2 separate regions of the Homo sapiens genome follow, and region 2 is linked to region 1. The links are contacts of gene promoters, found by promoter capture Hi-C in blood cells and fetal thymus (Javierre and others, 2016). All regions are on one chromosome and are shown on one strand. The core of a region is centred on a gene start or on the middle of the fragment in contact, and the rest is flanking DNA. Distances in the headings are between cores, read along the strand shown. Region 1 holds the start of WBP4 (WW domain binding protein 4). Region 2 has its middle 3.1 kb from the start of MRPS31.

Region 1 (4,038 bases), core at 397-2,896:
GTTTTAATCAATTTTTTTCTTTAAATCAACCGCGCTCAAAATGTTAGACCCTTTGGAAAGTCGATATACTTATTTAAAGCCATCTCATCAGAGTGGTATTTTTCTCCTCCATAGCTCGTGGTGTGTATTTTTAAAGGGAAAGAAAAAAGATTCTCGTTCCCAAAGGCCTTTTTTCGAGGGTACTTTCCGTGACTGCGACCAGCGCCCCTTAAGTCAAGTTGGGAAGACCTCGCAGGCCGGCCTCGCGCTTGCTCAGGCGCCGCGGGTGGAGACGCGAGCGCACACGCGGCGGAAAGGGGCGCCGGGCGGCTGCGCGGCCGGGAAAGCGCGTCCCCCCGGGAGGGCGCGGAAGGCACACTGTGTTCCGTGGGGCCTCGTAAATACCCTGCGGCCAGAGAACCACTAGAGCTACTGGTCCGGGCGCGGGCTCTGGGGCGCCCAGGGCAGGGGGGTCAGCCCGTCCTGCATAGGAAGAGTCGCAAGAGCGGCTGAAGAGGGTGTGGGCCGGACGGGGGCGCTGGGAGGAGATAACGCAAGGCCGGAGTTAATCATCACCTCCCGGGCGTCTGGAAAACTACGGGCCGGAGGGGCGGGGGAGCAGCCCAGGGGAAAGTGAAACTCCCTCAGGGCCCACCAGCCCCGTGAGCCGGAGGCGGGAGGGAGAAGGATCGGAAGCGCATTCGCTTCTCCAGCAGGCACGGCGTGGCACTCGAGGCTCCAAAAGCCGCAGCCCAGCTCCTGGCGCCACTAACTACAGTAATGCTTATTTTCTACAAACTCACCCAGACGGGGACAAGAAAGGAGCCAGAACACAAGATTTAAAAAGTCAGCCCTCCAAACCGATAGTTGCAAAAAAAAAGAAAAATAAGGAAGCGTTCCCATACCGGGAGTCGAACCCGGGCCACCTGGGTGAAAACCAGGAATCCTAACCGCTAGACCATATGGGAAGTGCTATGAGAAACTGCCGTGACCCACCTGACAAGCATAAGTGCCTCTGCCTCCTTCGCCGCACCTCTCGCCACCGCCGCCTCTGCGCTACTGAAGCTGCTGCTGCCGCCGCCGCCGCCGCCGCCGCCGCCGCCGCTGCTGCTGCCCACACGCTCCCGAGCTAGGGAACAAGCCCCATCCGAGCGCGTGGGCGTCGTAGGGGAGAGGAGGGGCGGGGCCGCTCCGCTGCAACAGCAAAGTTTGAGGCGAAGCCTAGCGACTCGCAGCGCCGGTCCCGCAGTTTCACCTCTTTTTTTTTTAACTCCGCCAGAGGACCCCGACCCACAGGTCCCGGTTGCTCCGCTGGTCAAAGTGCGTGCGGAGTAGTTGGCAAAGTTGAGAGCGGAGACGTCTCTGGGAACAGCTGTTTGCGTTCCGGGCGGAGGCGGCGCGCTGAGCTCCTTGGCCTTGAGCCAGCGAGCCTAGAAGGAGGATGGAGGTTTTGGGCCCCAGGGGAGGACACAGAGACGGCGGGATGGCGCAGGGACTTGAGGCTTGAGATCCCGTCCTTCAGCTCAGGTCCCGTCGCGCTTTTACCCCTTCCCGGTGACCTCAACCCCTTTATACCGACCCCACCTCTTTGGAGCCGGGAGTACCGCCCCTGTAGGGGGAGGGGAGAGGAGGCGATTTCGAACGCGGATTGGATCGTCTGGGCACCCGTAGTTGGGAACAGCGGAACGCTGGTCCCGGGGACTGAGTAAGGTGTCTGGATCGGAGGGAGGTTCGGGTGGGCATCGGGCGGCTGGAAGAGCTCGACTCGTCCCGCTGGGAAAGCGCGAGTCTGAGTGGAACCCTGGACGACTTGCAGAGCGGCTGGCGCAGTCATGTGAGTTGGGTCTCAGGCCCTGAACAACGAGGTGTTGTTTCTCTGGGCCGCCCTTTCTCGCCCGGGTCTTCCCCTCCTCTCCTCCCGCCCTTCGGCCGGGGGCGTGACAGACGCGTTCTTAACTCGCTCGGGACCGGCCCCAGACCTGCAGGGCCGGTTCTCAGGGCGGGGTAGAAATGTTACCCCGCTGAACGCCCTGGGGTATGGGGCACGGGCTCTAGGGGGAGGCCGGCGGCCGGTTCAGGGGGCTGGTTGGACGGCCGCGGGTGAAGCGACGCAGTGCTCTCTCTACGACGCTGTCGGGGGTCGCATGCACCCCTTGGGTTTCCGAAGCCCCTGAACCCTAGGGTATTGTGAAACTAGGGCTGGGCTGCGGCCTCCCCCGCCCACTGGAAGCGGCCAGCCCTGGATAGCGTAATGGTTTTTTTTTTTTTTTTTTTTTTTTTTTTGTCGGCCGTCTACGAAGTCCCATGGCTTTTCCAGTTCTCTCTTGCCTTGAGGCTCAAGAACAGTTTGTTTTAACTGAGAGTCTGGGAGGAACTACAGTTTTCCCCAGAGTAGTCTTGTACGTTGTTCTCTTGGTGGGAATAACTTGATTTAAGGCAAACTTTATGAGTTTCTTCAGGTTTCCATTACAGCAACCTCCCCCAAAGCCAGAAAGGATAAATGTTCTTCTAAGATGTTCCTTAGTTTTTCATAACGATGACGATAACAAGTGAGGAATTTTTGAAAGCCATTTTATTGAAGGGAGTTTTGTAATGAATCAGATACAGACTTTTTCTACTCCGCTGGCAACAGAATTTCAATTGACTGTGCTCCAACCAGATAAATAATAAAACGACTATACATAACAAGACAAGATTCAGTAGCAGGGGCATATATTTCAAACTTTAAAAACTGTAAAGCATGCAGAATTTAACCTTTTTTAAGTTTTACATGAGCTTAGCCTTGTTGTCTCTCTTTTTCAGGGCGGACTACTGGAAGTCACAGCCAAAGAAATTCTGTGATTACTGCAAGTGCTGGATAGCAGACAATAGGCCTGTATGATAATTCCGCTGTTAGAGATTCTAATAATAATTGTGTTGAATGAAGTGCTCCTTTTTGATGTAAACTCAGTTTACAAAGCACTTTTATGTACATTGCTCTTGCATTTTCAAAACATCAGAAGATTTCTGTCTTCTCAGTCCCCTATGAAAGCTGTGAGCCTTCTTCCTTTTCATCAACCTGACTTTGATTATATATTAAATTATTTCTCTGTGGCCTTTTGGGAAATGGGCAATGAGTTGGTCATATCATTCATGTTATGAAGCACCTATATTATAATGGTGGTGTTCATAATACTGTCATACCCAAAGAATTGTGGAAAGCCCTTAAAAAATAAAAGCAACATGTTTAGTTTTTCTTGTATATTTTGTGGTCTAGAAATAATCAAGTGTATTTAATGCAGAGCTGTGTATCTTTAGATGCTTAAATTTGAAAGAACACCATTATTTCCTTTCTCATGAAACAAAGTAACAACTCTGTTAGGTATGTTGTTAGTCTGTCTCATAGTTGAGATCCAGTTTTGAAGATGTAAAGCAAAAAGCACACCGCTGATTTTTCTCCCCTCTTGCATGTCAAAATACTATGTACATACCACATAAACACTAGGGTATCTGTTAAATATATTTTATGTTGATACCGTTTTTACTTGGCAAAGTTGGATGCACAAAGAATAGTAGTCTCATATTTTAACAATGCTGTGGATTTCTTCTGTAGACATTTATTTCCTGTTACCTGCAAGGTGTTTAGGATTTGGATTTTTTTTTGATGTTTTGGTCTTTTTGGATAGTTGCTAAAGTTCTTCACTATTTTACCTAGGCTATCCTTATAAATAAATACCATGAATTTTTAAAACCACACAGGTCACTTAAAGTCTCTCTTTCTTGGAGGTACCTAGGCTGTAAAATGAATTTTGTGAGTTATCTAGAGTAAGTAATCCCTTCCAGTGTAGTCTGTCTTTATCTTCTTGAGTTGGTAATACACATTGATTTAACCTTTAATTAGAAACAAAATTAATTTAATTTTGAATGGTCCTTTAATATTGTATTCTTTGTGTAGTGTAATCAACTTTAGGAAACGCAATGTATGAAAAACAGGAGGATTATCTGCTTTACAAAGTCACACTTTAAAGATGAATTCATGGTAGTATTTTAAAATAGCTCAGTTAATGCATCATGTAAGAT
Region 2 (4,038 bases), core at 521-3,020, 290 kb before region 1:
AGTGAGACCCCGTCTCAAAAAAAAAAAAGGATGAAAAGATGCAAGAGAGAGACTTGGCTTTTACCTGTCCCTCATGAAACAGGGAACTGTGACCCCAGAAGAGATGTGGGGTTCCCAAACTTGGAAGGGGATGAGAATAAATCTGGTGGGAAATGTTGGCTAATAGGACACATGGGAACCACTAGCCTAAAATTCCATAAAGGCATTCCAAAGTTTACATCAACATTTTCCCTGTCCTCTCAAAAAATAATCAAGGTGGGGAGGTGAGTTTTTGTGATACTAAAACACAGCTTACATTGAGCAGATCTTCCTGAGATCCACTAACACTAACAGAACCTTTGTGACTGAATGCTCTACACAGTACACTTGGGGATGCTTACTTTGTCTGATTTGTAAAAAAACAAACAAAAATTAAAGCATAACTTTGTCAAAAAACAAAATTATGGCAAATTTAGCATAATTGGTTTTTATTTGTGATTCTAGAATAGTGTTCCAGTGAGTTGAGCAGAGGGGTTTGGCTTTACAAGCACAAAAGAGTTGAAGAAAATAGAAACAGGGAACAAAAATCAGATTGGTCATTTCAAAGTTACCTTCCTTATAGGGTTAAAACAGAGGGATTCCTTGTCATGCTGGCTCAGGTAAACTAGGGCCCCTCTGATTGGTGCTGTGAATCTCCTGCTTTTGGAAAACTGGCCCTGATTTCAAAGTTCAGTTTGATTACTTGGCACTTAGCACAAGTGACTATTCTGGTTTGCTCTGGTGTGCTGGGGGCTAGTACAGGAAGCTTGTCCAAAACTACGGCCTCCTATAAACTTTAGCAACTTCAATACAGAAAAGTGTATGAATTATAAATATGTTGATGAAAATGTATCTTTGTTATTGTTGAGATGGAGTCTTGCTCTGTCACCGAGGCTGGAGTGCAGTGGTGCTATCTCAGCTCACTGCAACCTCCACCTCCCAGGTTCAAGCAATCCTCCTGCCCTAGCCTCCCGAGTAGCTGGGAGTACAGGCGTGCACCACCACCCCCAGCTAATTTTGGCATTTTTAGCAGAGACAGATTTCACTATGTTGGCCAGGCTAGTCTCGAACTCTTGATTTCAGGTGATCTTCCCATCTTGGCCTCCCAAAGTGCTGGGATTACAAGCATTAGCCACCGTGCCTGACCAAAAATGTGTTTAAGGAATGATCACAGAGTTAATTCACCCATATAAACCTCCACCTGGATCAAGAAATAGAATATTAGCAGTACAGCATACTTTCCTTGATATCACTTGATACCCAGTGGAAAATCCATTCTTGAGTATAATAAGCAGTCCATGTGGATCACATTTAATAGTTACCTCATCTTTTTTCGATTTCTTATAATATCCTTCAAATGGGTTTTTTAAAACCCTAAAATCTCTTAACAAAGAAGATGAAAACTTCCATCTCAATTTCAGTTTCTCTGGGGGAAGACCTTGTCCCAGCTACCCTGTTCTTAATCTACTCTAAGGTAGTGCAGACACAGTAAATTACCTCCCTGCTCCGTAAGGGTAGATAGGCCGTGACTATGTGAAAGTGCCTGGCTGAGGGTCACAAGCCAGAATTGAAATTTAGTCTTCTCTACCATTTGGTTCCTTCCACTATCACTTTCTTACAATAGAGGCTTTCTTTGACCACCGTGGTTAATGTAGTCTCCTGCCCCATCCAGTCGCACTCTGGCACGGATTGCTGTTGTCCACCTATAGCCATTCTCTTCTTCTGGAATTTTAGCTGAACTCATGACACTGTCTCTACCAAAAAATAAAAAAATTAGCTGGGCATGGTGCCCCTGTGGTCTCAGCTACTTGGGAGGCTGAAGTGGGAGGATTGCTTGAGCCCAGAAGGTGGAGGCTACAGTGAGCAGTGATTGAGCCACTGCACTCCAGCCTAGATGACAGGGCAAAACCCTCTCTCTAAATAAATAAATAAATTTGACTTAAAAAAAAAGAGAATTAATAGGATAGTTCTACTTGGCCATAAATTAAATCATGAAGAGAATTTCAATAAATTCCCCCCAAACTTCAAAAGTCTGTCCTTTGAAAAACTAATATGACTTGTGTAATTTTTTTTCCAGAGCAATCATTTATGAGAGTGACAAAAAGAAAGCCGAAAGTAGAAAATTTTTTCCTCCTCTAACTTTCTATTATGGTATTTGATTCACCAGTCATTTTCTTCCCAGGGACCCCTGGAAATGCACTTTTTAGAAACAAGGCAAGAAATAGAAAATCAACTGAAATTGCTCCTGATATAGAGTGGTGACTTTGTCCTAGCTATCTCATAAAATTCTATACGAATTAACTCAACAAGCCTTACAAGAAAATGAAGAAACAAAATCACCCTATATTCCAGTTATCCATTGCTGCACAACAAACCATCCTAACGCTTAGTATCTTAAAACAACAATTTGTTATCTATCCTGGTTCTGTGGTGGACGGGGCAGCTCAGCTGGGTGGTCCCTACTTTGATCCCTCATGTGGTTGCCATCAGATAAGACTGAATGTCCGGGATGGTTTCTTCACCCACACATCTGATACCTCAGCTGGAATAGCTGGAAGAAACAGGGGCTGGCTGGGCCTCTCTCCACACAGTGCCCGGCCTAAAGCAGGCTAACTCTTACAAAGTTGCAAAATCACAGCGAAGATATTGAAGTAGCAGGTTAGTTAATGGTACAAGCAATTTCACTTCATCGCAATGAACTTCTTTCCCATAATATTTAATGTATCCCAGATTCATTTCTAAGCTTAATTACTATACTAATTCTTAGAAACACTTTAAAGCTAGTAAATAATACGTCTTGGAAAGATCTAAGTGAGTAAATAATACATCTAGAAAGATTCAGAACAATTTAAACTATTCTACCAATCTGCATAAACTAGCCACTAGTTCATGCTAGTGGGTCACAAAAGGGTAAAAACAATGAGCCCCTTCTCCCAAGTGGCAGGATGGCAGAACACGAATGTCATAGCACAAGTGAGGTTTACAGGCTCTGTGGCTACTTTGCTTGTGCAGTAAGATGTATCATATTCTGCTGTTTGTTTTATGCCATTTTCCATCATACTTAGTCTATGCACTTGATAGGCAATCAAATGTAATTGATTCTATTAATTGCTTTTCAGTCACTAGAATTGCCCATATATGTAACTTCATTTCCCAATGAATATGTCTATAAATCTGTATATTTTATGTCCAAAGTAATCCTTTTCCCTAAAATCAACTCTGAATTAACTTTCAATGCCTCTGTGTAAAAATGCATGTAAGACTTTTTCCAATAAAATCAGGAGGCAGCATAAACATGCCCAATATGGTAATGAGAATAATAATACCACTAACTGCCATCGTTGCATACTAAACCATTTACATTCTTATCTCATTTAATTTTCTCATTGACATCAGAATTATCCAACAAGATCAGTCCGATGTCACAGCAGATGTATGAAACCCTGTAGCAAGGAGTCCAGGAATGGTCAATATTTGAAAATCCAACTAGCCAGGTCAGCAATGGCCCCAGTCTTCTGAGGTTTGCTCTTTGTGAAATAAGCCTGCAGAATAAACCCAGTTGTCCAGCAGTTTCAGCTACCTACTTCAATTTACTTGTGGCTCCACTAGCAAAAGTATTAACGGATTATGAACATCTTTCCAAAGGCGGTGTACTAGCTGAAGTCACAAAAAGAAGGAGAAAATGAGGCTGGATGGGCTCACTGGGGACGTAACTCATCATGAGGCTTCCTGATTTGGGTGATGGATGATGTGTGTGGTACTACACTGGATGTGGTATTTCCCATCTTTTTTCCTAGGTGGATTAAGAGCTTTTTTGTCTCTGCATCTTCCAAGTTGAGACTTTTTTTCTTTCTTTCTGGAACACACATATATATACATATCTCCAGCTGGTCTATCTTAAAAACCAGATCGAACTACAGTATCAAACACAGCCTAAAACAACATTTTAAGAGGCTGAGGCAAGTGGATTGCTTGAGCCCAGGAGTTAGAGACCAGCTGGGCAACATGGGGAAACCCCAT

What was found. Contacts are between HindIII fragments. The CHiCAGO score rates a contact against its expected background, and 5 or more counts as called.
Region 2: a fragment that was not itself captured here is called in contact with the fragment with the promoter of WBP4 in region 1 in 1 of 17 cell types (fetal thymus); the score reaches 5.1 in fetal thymus.

What each region holds. Positions count from the first base shown.
Region 1 is chr13:41,059,863-41,063,900 of GRCh38, forward strand. It overlaps WBP4 (WW domain binding protein 4), which reads left to right and starts at 1,647. Exons shown (of 10, transcript NM_007187.5): 1 at 1,647-1,813; 2 at 2,782-2,854. The coding sequence starts at 1,812. It overlaps TRE-TTC1-2 (tRNA-Glu (anticodon TTC) 1-2), which reads right to left and starts at 947; the gene lies at 876-947. It also overlaps a transcript of ELF1 not described here. RefSeq lists a silencer at 262-441. The HindIII fragment of the contact is 8,920 bases long and covers 1-4,038 here.
Region 2 is chr13:40,772,316-40,776,353 of GRCh38, forward strand. No RefSeq gene overlaps it. Among named protein-coding and RNA genes, the nearest start is that of MRPS31, 3.1 kb to the left of the region's middle. The HindIII fragment of the contact is 1,977 bases long and covers 783-2,759 here.